Regions from separate parts of the Homo sapiens genome. Here region 2 is linked to region 1. Evidence: promoter capture Hi-C in human tissues and cell types (Jung and others, 2019). All regions are on one chromosome and are shown on one strand. Each heading gives the region's core, a stretch centred on a gene start or on the middle of the fragment in contact. The rest is flanking DNA. Distances are from core to core; before and after follow the strand shown. Region 1 holds the start of TMEM132E (transmembrane protein 132E). Region 2 holds the start of ZNF830 (zinc finger protein 830).

Region 1 (6,109 bases), core at 1,481-3,980:
TCTTAGGGACTGGGCAGATCTGGGCAAGAGCTGAGCCCGGCACACCGAGGGCGCTCCACCAATGCGGAGAGCCCACTGCCCCCTCCATCTAAGCGCCCTCCATTCTGCCTGAGGCTCACCCCTCAGCGTGGAGCATCGAAACACCCCCGCCCCCCAACCCCGCCACGCCTTGCTGGTTAAGAAAATGTATCCCAGGTCGGCTGGTTTCACGTTAGGAGGGAGCAGAGGGCCCCGCTTCTCCACTCTCCTTTCGGAGCTCTCTCCCTCCCACCTCGGTCTGCTCCCCTCGCCTCCTGGAGCGTCTCCAGCTTGCGGAAGGCCCGCTGCAGCCTCCTTCCCTCTGGTCTGATTTCCCATTCTTGGGGGCTGTTCAAAAACCCGCTGCCCCCCACCCGTATGCCCGCTGTCCCACCGCCAAAGCGCGCCAACCTCAATCCCTCCTTCTCCCACCCCCTTTACCGCGGAGCCCGGGGCGAGCCTGGGGAGCAGACGCAACAGATTGCAGAATGCGAGAGCGCGGAGCCCGCTCCCTCCGCGCGCGGCCCGCGGCCCACCGCCCCGGCCTGTGCGGGTGCCCAGACCCCCGCCCTCCGGGCTCGCCTAAGCCGGCCATTTAGATGCAGCTCACAGGACCGCGGGCGTGCGAGCCGCGGCGGCTCCCCGGCCCGGAGTCAGTCCACTTCCCTTCCCGAGGACCGCCGCAGGAAGCGAGGCGACGGGCGGCGCGGCCCCGCACCGGCCTGCGCGCCCGGGGCGAGGAAAGACGCGATCCCGGCGGATCCCAACAGCCCCCAGCCCGGCCGGCTGCAGGGAGAGACGGGGGCGGGGGGCGGCCTGGACGCGATCCGGAGGATCCCTCGGATCCCTCTAGATTTCCGTGGGCGGACACGACCCCAGACCTTCGGGTTCGAACCCTTCTTTATAACCAGGAGAGGACTGGAGCGACACCCTCCCCCCACCCTTTTCTGGCGCCGGGCTCGGTCCCCTCAGCTGAGCTCGCCGGAGGGCTCGGGGGCTGGCGGTAACTCGAGCTGCAGCCAGAGACGCCAAACCCGGAGTGGCGGCTGCGAGTCCAGGGGGTGTGGGTGCTCCTCTCCCCAGTCTTCCCCGTACCCCCTCCAGTGGCGCCTGCCGCATCCTCACCCCCAGTCCGCGCCGCGACACTTACCGTGGGCGAGTAGCGCTGAGAGGCAGAGCAGGGCGGCGCCGCCGCGGCCCGACATCCCCGGGGCCATGGCCGAGGCGGGGGCGGGAGGGGTCCGAGAGAGCAACAGTCGACGACGACTTGGCCCCAGGCTGGGCTTGGTCACATCCAACTCAGGGCTGCCGTGGCGCCCGGCTGTCTCAGATGCAGCTCCGGGACCAGAGAGTGCAATTCGGGGACACTTTGCGGGGAGGGGGCGTCCCAGGCGCTGGCGGCTACACCCTCGGAGCCGGTGGGGGCGCAGCTCCGGGCGGGAGGAGCCTCCACCTCCCCCAGCTGGTGCCCCCTGCAGGATCTGCGAGGCGCGGGGGGAGCTGCACGTGCAGTCCGGAGCCCGGTGGCCGCGGGCGTCCCGGGGGCTACCTAGAGCCCAGTGCTGAATCTCCCGGCCTCACGGCCCAGCTCGAATCCGAACTCACTCGAGGGTGCCGACTTCCAACGCAATCCCCAGTTTCCTCGGTTTCGGTAGTAACCGCACATGGATAGCGCCGCTTTCTTCCTCCAAGCCCCTGCAGCAGCCCAGCATAAAAATCCCAGGTCAGGTGCAAATGAATGCTGTCTTTCTCAAAGAAAGAGAAAATCCAGACAACTTTAATCCATCTGGAGAAGGAAAAGTTTCCGTGCGGTGCTGAAACTGGCGACGCCGGTCGCCACCACCCTAGGCGACGCCCAGACCGGATGCCCGAGGCGGGCGGCCAGATGTTTGTCCCCTCGCAAGGCTCGCTCCTCCGCTCCAGCGCGCTTTCTCCAGTCTGGATCAGGGCCCAGGCTCCACACAGGCCGGCTCAGCGCCTCCTGCCCAGGCAGCCGCTCGGCGGCTGGGGCAAGGGTGGCGCGGCCAGAACGGGCTGCCCCATGTAGATGGGGCTTGGAGAAGCGAGGGAGCGAGAAAGCCGGCTAATGCGCCCTGCCCCGAGCCCTTCCTGCCCAGGACGTCGACTCCAGCTTGATGACCATAAACGCTGTAAGATGCAGAGGGGCTCCTGCAGCTCACGGCAGCTCCGGGCCACCCCGCTAAGGTCTCGCTGTCTCGGCAGAGAGGCGCGCTGCCCCGCCTCGCTCCTCGCCTTCCCTGGGGGAACCTGCACAAACCTTGAACTTTTCTGGGGTTCAGAGTCTCCGACGCCTCCTCCCCGCCGCCCCCACCCTGTCCCCGGACGCCCGTTCGCCCGCTGTCTCGATGCTGCCGGGCATCGGCTCCCGCTCCCTCCGAGTCAGTTTGGGCGAGCGGATCGCCGCGCCAGTCCGGGCTGCGGGCGGTGAGACGCGGGCGCGGCGCCAGGGGCCAGGGCAGCCGGCACCTGCGCAGCTTGCGGCCAGGGAAGCGGCAGCTGGTGCCTACGGGGCCGAGAGGAGAGGAGGTGCTGGCAGGGGAGCCGGCTCCCCATGGACGTGTGTGGGGGAAGAAGAAGAATCGAGGAGCAAAAAGGAAGAGGAGGTGGGGGAAGCCACAGTTGCACGAAGCAGCCGCCGCCGCCGTCGCCGCCTCCTCGGCGCTCGCGCCGGCTGCTCCGCCGTAAATGACTCGAGAGAGACACACACACTCGCGCTCGCCCGCCCTCCTCCTCCGTCCGGGATTCAGCGCCCACCCGGGCAGAAGCGGGCGCCGAGCTTGGCGCGCTCACTCCCACCCCTCCCAGATTCCCCGTGGTCACGTGGCCCCCGAGCGCGCGGCCCACAGCTCGCGCGCCACGGAGACTCCCCGACTCCTAGCTCCCCCTCCTCTGTCCACGTGTCCATTCCGCATTCCTAGCCTGGCGGCGCGCGCGGCTCCTTAATGAGACTCGGGCCAAGGGCCGACCTCGCGATTCCGCTCGCCCCTATTTTATGTTTGATTTTTCCTTCCCAACGCCGGCTAGCGCTGGGACCCGAATGGGGCCGGCCAGCTGCGGCGGGAGGAGCCTCCACCTCCCTCAGCTGCGTTTCTCCAGGGTAGACGCCACCGCAGTCACTGATGTCCCTTTTCAAAGGATGCACGCTCCCCACCGGGCGCCGGAGGTGTTTTGCAGCCGCTCTTCCAGAGGCGCGGGTAGGGGGCACCCTACCCCCACCCCCAGAGTTCGCTGGGCACTGGCTGGGAATCAGCCTCGCTGCTGTGCCCAGCTCCTCTCGGGCCGCGGGGGCTCTGGGGCTCAGCTTCGTGCGGGATGGGTCCGGGGCGCAGCTGTGGGAAACCTATTTATTCTGTTGCTGGGGAAGGAAGACGGAGAAGAGGAGGGGACAGTGCTTTCCTACAGGTTGTTTAGCAAGCCTTTAAAGAGGCATGAGGTGGGGGTGGGGAACTGCCCCTCTTGCATACTCACCCAGGCACCTGCTGACTAGCGGGAGGGGTGGCTGGAGTGATATCTGTTCCCACCATCAGGCCCTTTCCATTAGAGTGCAACCTAGATCAGACCCGGCAAGTCAACCTTCACACCTCATCTGTCAACCAGGCATCGGATCCATGGCAATGATTTTATAGCTTCGTTGGGTATCAACTCCAATCCCCAGAGGGTGAATTTCAATCCTACCCTGCTCTGGAGGGACAGGGTCTTCAATCCCATGGACATATCCCTACTGGGGAGGATATGGATCTTGAGGGTCACCCTTCCATACCTCTGCACTCAACTGGAGTGAGAGTGTGGGGCCAGGTCAGAGCAAAGCCAGCTGGGGCACTCAAACCGTGCCCTCCATCTGCCTGACTCCATGCTAGCCCTCTTGACCCTGAGAGTTTCCTTTCATCTAGGACGGTGACATTTTGTTTTTGGAAAATGTGCTTGCATTTTTCATGGAAGGCTTCCTCCTCCCTGGCTGCTGGCTGTTGCTGCCTCGCTTGGTACTGGGGCCTGTAGAGGGCTGCTCTGGCCCTTCCCCCACCCCTACATCTGTCTGGAGCTGGGGGGAGGTGCAGCCTGAGGAGAGCTGGCCAGCTCTTGGAGGCCCTGGGGATAGAAGGTGCTGGAGTCGTCAAAGAAGATTATTCTCATTAGGCCCCTAATGCCTGATGGCAATTAATGTCACCCAAGGGCTTATTCACCAACCCCCTGAGAAGCAAGCTAGCAATCAGGCTCTGTGTGGGGGAGAAAGGGGGAAAGATCCACCTCCTGAGGCAGAGGAGGGCTTCAGGAAGAGGAGGAAGGAAGCAGGGAGGGCCCTCCATCCCTGCCCAGCACCCCATCAGAAGGGTCATGGAGCCTGAGCATGGCCAGAAGGAAGAGACAAGGTGCTTTTCTGAGCCCAAGACACACCTTACCCTGTGTTGTGGATCAAATTTCCTTTCTCCTCAAATGTTCCCAGTTGACGCTAGGGTCTGAGGGGCAGCAATGTTGCATCTCTCCCAGCCATCTGTGGAAATAGCACAGTGTTCTGGTCAGGGTGGGCAGGGACTCAGACATAGAATTCTTCTCTCTGCAACCCCATCTCACCCCACCCCATAGCTCTTATGTGACCTTCCTTTGTGATTCAGTTTCTCCTCCTCCCTCCCTGTCTCTGTCCCTCCCTTTCACAGTAGTATGGTGCATATCTCCAACATCACAGGCATTGTAGGTACAACAGTGAGCAGGACAAAACCAGCTCTTGTCCTCATGGAACTAACTTTCTAGAGGGGAAGGCAGACACTAAGCTTCTAATTGCTTGCAATTGTGGTGTGATTTGGCATCATGCACTTCGCTCATCTTATGGAGAAGACTGAGGCCTGTGGTTGGAAAGGGCGAGGGAGCAGCCTGCTATCTTTAGAGAACACAGTTTCAGCCTCAAGTTCTTCCTGTACCTCCGATATGGATCTACCCTTCCTGGATTGAAGCCTTGTGCCAAGTCCATGGGCCTGATGATCCTCTGACTCTCCAAATGCCAGATTTTCCTCCTCCTTGCCTCAGGGAAGTGAAGGGCAGCCGATAGCCCACCTGGAGAATAAAATATGACTACAACCTGCAGTGCTCCATGGACCTGTCATTCTCAGCAGTGTAAATCCTACTGCTCAGAGAGAAGGCAGTTGGCACAAGGTAGACAGCCAGTTGTTTCAGCTATTCCAATCCTGCATGTCATTTACCTGGAAAGGGGTTCTATACATTCCCTCTGCCTTTCCTACTACCCCAGCAGACTGCCCTCGGTCTCACCTGTTAGTCCTAGTTACGGATTCCCAAACAGCAATGCCACTGGAGCTTAGATAAGGGGAAGTCAGAGGAGCCACCCCAACTGGAGCCCGGGCTGGAGAGAGGACCTGGCATGTGTGTACTCTTCTATCCCAGATGAGCACCTTATCAACTTAAGGTGGTAGTGTCTCTGCTGTTTCCATTCTGTTTGTGTCTTCTGGACAGAGGATTGGCAATGGTTGGAGGTTATCTCAGTCACCAGTTCCCAGGTGATGCCTGGAAGAACCCTGTCCTCCTGCCAAGAAGCCAGGCAGCAAGTGGGGTTCTGTCCCAGGCCCCGGTGCCCTACATGGATGCTTATCAAGGACCCATACATAAACTGGCACCCACTTCCTCCCATGCCTGACCTGCCCTCATGATAGGCCAGGTGACATCTGTCCTTCAGCATGCCTCTGTTTTTCAGAATGTCTACCATCAGGAGACAATCAGATGAGCCAATGTGGAGCATCATGAAGACATGTTCCTGGGATCATCCTGGAATCCGACTCTGTCTCAGCTCAAGGGGGTTCCGAGATTTCCTAAGCTAGCCCTCTCATTTTACAGCTGCAAAAACGGAGGCCTGTTAATTCAGTCATTTTATGAAATCCTTTGAAATTTTTATTGAGCTCTAATTGTGTGTGAAGTATTATGGAATGCTTCTGTACTGGAATGCATAGGTTGAACAAGACAGAAAGGCCCAGATGGCAGAAGTTCAAGAGCTTTCACCAACCCATATAGAGAACCTAGTAATATTAATGACTAATGTTAATGAATCCATGCTTTTTACGTGCCAGTC
Region 2 (6,109 bases), core at 2,155-4,654, 380 kb before region 1:
TCTGAGCTCAAGTGATCCACCTGCCTCGGATTCCCAAAGTGCTAGGATTACAGGCATGAGCCACCACACCCAGTCGCATTTTATCTTTAGTGGACAGTACTCCACTAGATTGTTGGCCAAGGCAGTACTGGGCCCACCATTCAAACCCATATTTGTACTTTCTTGCTAGAGTAATAGTGATGAATGAAGGGAAAATTCTGAGTAACACTGGGTTCACACATTTGAGGCAAGCAAGCCGTGTCTCATCAAATAGAAGCTGCTATCACTGATCAGCTAGCAGCTCAAGGAGGAAGACTGCCAAAGGCAGCAGGACAATTATTAATAATAATTTGTGGTACACAGCAACTGTTCAGTAAGTGTTAGATAACTCCTTTTAGGCAGTGACACTAAATACAAACAAAATCTTGAATCCCATACTTATCCCTCCTGTTTTTCTTCTTCCACTTCTAGTCACTAAAATTTAGCTATTCTGGCCGGGCGTGGTGGCTCACGCCTGTAATCCCAGCACTTTGGGAGGCCGAGGTGGGCAGATCACGAGGTCGGGAGATTGAGACCATCCTGGCTAACACGGTGAAACCCCGTCTCTACTAAAAAATACAAAAAATTAGCTTGGCGTGGTGGCGGGTGCCTGTAGTCCCGGCTACTCGCGAGGCTGAAGCAGGAGAACGGCGTGAACCTGGGAGGTGGAGCTTGCAGTGAGCCGAGTTTCCGCCACTGCACTCCAGACTGGGCGACAGACCGAGACTCCGTCTCAAAACAAACAAACAAAAAAAACAAACAACAAAAGAATTTAGCTATTCCTATGACATGCTTTCACTTCTATTCCTTTTCTCCCAATCCTCAGCTAATCAGTCTTGTCACCTTGCTTTTGAAAATATAGTTTTCAAATAGCTCCTAGCTTCCTTCTACCCTCCGTGTTCATTCCATTCTATATACTGTTAATAATGTCCCATGATACTTCTTTGCAGATGTAATTCTTTGCTCAAAACCTCCATTTTCATATGAACTTCATCAAAAATTTTCACTTAGCATTCAAGGCTTTTCAAACCTTGTCTCTTGGTACTCCTCTCCATAAAAAAAGACTTTAGGGAAACTAGATTGAGTTAATATATGTAAAGCACTTAGAACCATGCCTGGCCCATACTAAGAAATATATAGGTCTTAGCTATTATTATTATTGCTCACTTTTATTTGAATATGCTGTATGCATTTCAACTCCAGAACACTGCTAATTCCCTTTTCCTATTTGAGTACCTCAATCTCTAAAGGAAGGAGTGATTTAAACTATCAATGACCAGCAAGAGCCAATTGTTACTGCTGGAAAGACAACTTAAATATTCTTTCTACAATAGATAGGACCTGCAAACAAGGAACCCTAATTTACCACCAAATAACAAAATTTAAGGCTGGATGAAATAAATAAAAGATAATATTTTTTCCTTCATTCAAGAAACAGCAAATTTATGGAATGTGTTATTTAAAGAAAAAGAAAAAACCTGAAAAACATAAATGGGTTCTGGATTTAGGGCAGTTACTCTCTAACCCTGGCATATATTAGAATAACCTGGGTGCTTAAAAAACACAGTTGCCTGGGCCCAATCCCAGATTTATTGAAGGGGAAGGCCTCAGACACTTTAATTATTTTAATGCTTCATAGGTGACTCTCATGTGCAACCACATCTGACCATCATTGGTTTGGTCATGTTTGGCATATAGTTTTCTTATGTTTTTAAAATAAAGCACACTAAGAGAACTGATTAACCTACAATGACTTATGTGTTTATGAAGTGTTCTAAAAAACCATACAAAAACCAAAGAAACAAGAAAACAAACCTTTTCAACTTGATGTAGGGTTCAGAAGATACATACATTCCAAATACCACAGTAAGCATTCATCTGAAAGTTTGCCGGTTGGTCTTTCTATTAATTAAAAAAATTCAAAACAGAATACAGATTTAACTATGTACAATATTTACAACTTACAGATTTTACAACGAAATTATACAGTTAAGTCTGTCGTGGAAATGTTGGCATTTTGGTATATAACACTTCAGAAATTTCAAAAACAACTTTACCTCAAAAACATGTTACACAAATTTTCCAAAGTGCTGTAGCTCACTGGCTCATTTTATCTCAACAATCCAGTTTAGCAATCCAGGTACCCAAATCTTGAGGCATGAAGTAACCGCTATACTACTGAGAGACAGCACTTTTTATACAACAGCAGAGGCTGTTAGAAACCTTGGGTCTTTAAAACCCTATAACAATGCCCCTTTCACCCTCCAATCCTGAGACAACAAATCCTGTAGTTCCCCCTCATCATCGCTGTCAGCATTCTCTTCTTCCTTTTTCTGCAGTTCTTTTATGGTCAGGATTTCTTTAAGTTTATTTTTTATTTCATCCTGGCGATTCCGTAGCTTTTCCACCCGTCGGTAACACTCTATCTGCTCATCGATCTCCCCAATCTGGCGGTCCAACCGTCCCTCCTCATCCTCTTCGGCAACTATGGCTTCGGAAATAGTGTTGACCTGCCTCATGGCTTTTTGGAATTCGTCCCACTCTTTGTCCATCTGATCTTTTGGAGCATCAACCTTTCGTACTCTTGCATCTACCTCAGGGTCGTCAAAAAAACCTTCCGGTAACGCTTCCGCGGTGTTTTCTCTCCTTTCCACCACTTTTTCATGTATTTCTGCTTTCTCAATTGACCCTGAATGAGGAATTATGGGGGCCTTGGGAGGATTAGTACTAAAGAAATCGTTTGGCAGCACACTACTTGTTACCTCCCGTGAAGAGGAAACTGAGTGCTCCTTGCCCTGTGCGTCGGAGAGCGGCTTGCTGGCGTCCCCCCTTTTTCTTTCTCCATCTCCTTCCTCCTCCTCTTCCTCCTCCTCCTCATCTTCATAATCGGGGAGTAAACTGAGTCCTGAAGGCTTACTGGGAGTCGCTCTAATGAACTCCTTTCCTATTTTGTCAAAGTTGGTGGTCCACGCAGATGTGGAGGGCTGTACCTGAGGCACCAAGGTGGCCTTCGCTCTCTTGACATCTTGGTCGTCTGCGTCCGGCGCTTTCCTCTTGACGGAATGAGGCGCTGAACTGGCGGACGAACCCTGGCTGGCTTCCTTCGCGCCTTTCAGCTCGGCCACTTTCTCTCGGTGCTGCTTTCCCAGGACGTGAGTCTGCCACAGGAGCTCGCTCTTAACCGGAGTGTTACACAGGGCACAACTCAGCTGCCCCAAACGGTTGTACTTCGCGAATGGAGATTCTATCCGTTTCCGACTGGTGCTCAGACGCTGCTTCTCCTTCATTAACCGCCGCAATTCTTCCTGATTTATCACTCGCTTCCCTGCCGGAGTCCGGGCGGAGGCGGAGGACGCCATCTTGGCGACCAGACCCAAAACGATTCTGGTTTCCGTCGGGCGAGGCATGATAACGTCACTTCCTGTAAGGGCGATGATTGGCCGAGGCTCAAGAGAGCGTGGCGTCGCATTGCCGTTTTTGCTCAGAATCGCGACTAAGGCTTTTTTTTTTTCTCCCTCTGAACGGTTAGGCTATGGCTGCGATAAAGGCCGTCAACTCCAAGGCTGAGGTGGCGCGGGCCCGGGCAGCTTTGGCTGTCAATATATGCGCCGCCCGAGGGCTGCAGGATGTGCTGCGGACCAACTTGGGTCCTAAAGGCACCATGAAAATGTGAGACAGCGGTTGGAGCGGCCATTACGCGGCTAGGGGCCCGTTGGTGTCCTGTCGCCCTCTGAGGCAGGCGTCCGCGTAGCGCTGTGGATGTTCTTGCGAGCTTGATTTCCCTCATTCTCATCCCTGCTCTGGGGGTATTTCTCGCCTGGTGCAGGTGGAGGAGAAAAGCCTCCCCTAGTAGAGGGCCCCGGGAGTGAAGCTGTGGCGCTTCCCCGACCCCCGACTTGTCGTCAAGGTTCATATGCAGTTAGAAAGTCAGTTAATTTAGTGTCTCATTGGAAACAAAGCATTTAACTCCTCTGCTCCTTAAGACTGTATACCCTTGGTCCATAAATTCAACAAGTAGTTTTGTTTTTTGTATGGCAATGTATTGTAGTGGAGAGGACACAGGCTTTGGAGCCAGGAAGGCATGGGGTCAAATCCAAGTTCTACTTGAATACCCCGTGTCTATGGTTGTTCAGATCTATTCATCTTTTCAGTATATATTAAGCACCCTTTTCTATAGACAAGAGTGAGGAAAAGAGACCAGTGAGGGCAAAAGGGTATAAGAGGAGAGACACATCCTCATAGTAATGAACAAAATAATATTAATGGTAAAATAAGTCACTTAGGTACCAGTTGTTGGGACACAGAAATGATCAAGATAACGGTTTCTGTTCTTAAGGAGATGTGGTAGAGACGGATGTGGTAGAGTAGGATGTGCTAATTATATATAGATGCATATAATTATGCTGAAGAAAGGGACTGATGGCAGAAGGAAAAGCATCTTAAGTAACATGTTTGATCAGTCTTGAAAGAAGAATAAGACTTCACTAGTTGGAAGAGGGAGTAAAGGCCTGGGCAAAGTAATTTCAGGAATAAGAAAGACCAATGGTGCAAATCCAACAGAAACGAAACAAAACATGGTATATTAAGGGAACCAGAAGATTTGCTTGTGGAAAAGTAGATGAGGCAGGGAAGATATTGGGAAAGGTCAAGTATGTCATTGCTGTGTTTGGATTTTAACTTGAAAATGATGGAAAACATAAAAATCATTGGAGGACTTTTGATCAGGGAACTGACTGAATCACGTTGCCTTTTAGAAAGAAAAATGTGTGGAGGGTATATTTAAGTTTGGAGATATCCGGATGCCATCCAAAGTAGAGATGATAACAGTGGAGATGGAGAGAAGGTGGCAGATTCAAGAGATATTTAGGTAGTAGAATTGATAGAACTTGGTGATCTAATAAATGCAGGGATGAGGGAAACTAAGTTGAGTGACTGAATGAATGAAAACATTCACCAAAATTAAAACCTGCAGGAAATTTGCGAATTTGTGCTTTGTAGACTTCCAAGTATTCTTTGACCAAACCACAGTTCGTAACTCATCAAGTGCTTTTATCTTTAAACCTGTAAATAGTCCATTTGGAATGAAATCTCCATAATCTGTCCATCTGGGGAGAAATGATTCTGTGAGCTGCAAATGGTGGTAATTACCATGGCATATTCCCATGGTACAGTGGAAGTTTTCCGAGCCCAGTTCCCTCTATTAAGGATAATGGAGTGGCAAGCACTGGGAATGTCTTCCTACCACATGAAGTTAATATCATTCTTCTCTGAACAGGCTTGTTTCTGGTGCAGGTGACATCAAACTCACCAAAGATGGCAATGTGCTGCTCGATGAGATGGTGAGCTGATGCTGCTGACTTTAATAAACCTTAATAAGCCTTAATTAGAAGCATAGTAGAACTTGTGTATCTTTAAGCCAAGGCTGTGAGCTAAATACTGCAGTCTTGAGATATGCTGAAGACTGTTGAATTAGACCTCAATAAAAAAATTTTTTTGGCCGGGTGTGGTAGCTCACTCCTGTAATCCCAACACTTTGGGAGGCTGAGGTGGCCAAATTGCTTGAGCCCAGGAGTTCAAGACCAGGCTGGGCAACATGGTGAAAACCGTCTCTACAAAAAAAAAAAAAAAAAAAAATTTTGCTCAGTGTGGTGACATACGCCTATAGTCCCAGCTACTCTGGAGGCTGAGGTGAGAGGATCACTTGAGCCCAGGAGGCCAAGGCTGCAGTGAATGAGATTGTGCCATTGCACTCCAGCCTGAGTGGCAGAGTGAAACCCTGTCTCAAAAAAAAAAAAAAAAAAAGTTTTTTTTTTTGGCTGTTTCCAAGTCTTTGTATACTTATACATACTTTGTATACTTAGGCATACTTATAAATCAATAATATCTTTTAAGGGCACTGCCTTATGTTCTTTGTAATTATGGAAAAATAAAAATATCCTTTGCAAGTTTAATACATGTATTCATTTTGAGATTGAATGATTTAATCTTATTTTAGAAATGTCATTGCATTCTGAAGCAAAGACTTTTATGAAATGTTCAGGCCTCATTACCTGTCACTTTTAAAATTTTGGACTTGACATTTAGGTATTGA

Evidence for each region. The method cuts DNA at HindIII sites, captures the fragments that hold promoters and counts their contacts. A contact is called where the count stands out against the background at its distance.
Region 2: the fragment with the promoter of ZNF830 here is called in contact with the fragment with the promoter of TMEM132E in region 1 in 3 of the 25 tissues and cell types used here (bladder, mesendoderm cells and thymus).

Annotation. Positions count from the first base shown.
Region 1 is chr17:34,576,203-34,582,311 of GRCh38, reverse strand. It overlaps TMEM132E (transmembrane protein 132E), which reads right to left and starts at 2,730. Exons shown (of 9, transcript NM_001304438.2): 1 at 1,169-2,730. The coding sequence starts at 1,235. TMEM132E-DT (TMEM132E divergent transcript) reads left to right here and starts at 2,943. Exons shown (of 2, transcript NR_160787.1): 1 at 2,943-3,441; 2 at 4,692-6,109. RefSeq lists enhancers at 2,706-3,241, 3,242-3,778. The HindIII fragment of the contact is 28,166 bases long and covers 1-6,109 here.
Region 2 is chr17:34,958,835-34,964,943 of GRCh38, reverse strand. ZNF830 (zinc finger protein 830) reads right to left here and starts at 3,404. Exons shown (of 1, transcript NM_052857.4): 1 at 1,167-3,404. The coding sequence starts at 3,377. The coding sequence ends at 2,259. CCT6B (chaperonin containing TCP1 subunit 6B) reads left to right here and starts at 3,484. Exons shown (of 14, transcript NM_006584.4): 1 at 3,484-3,687; 2 at 5,294-5,357. The coding sequence starts at 3,551. RefSeq lists enhancers at 3,111-3,360, 3,441-3,520, 3,571-3,790, 3,891-3,940 and a silencer at 3,660-3,954. The HindIII fragment of the contact is 13,629 bases long and covers 1-6,109 here.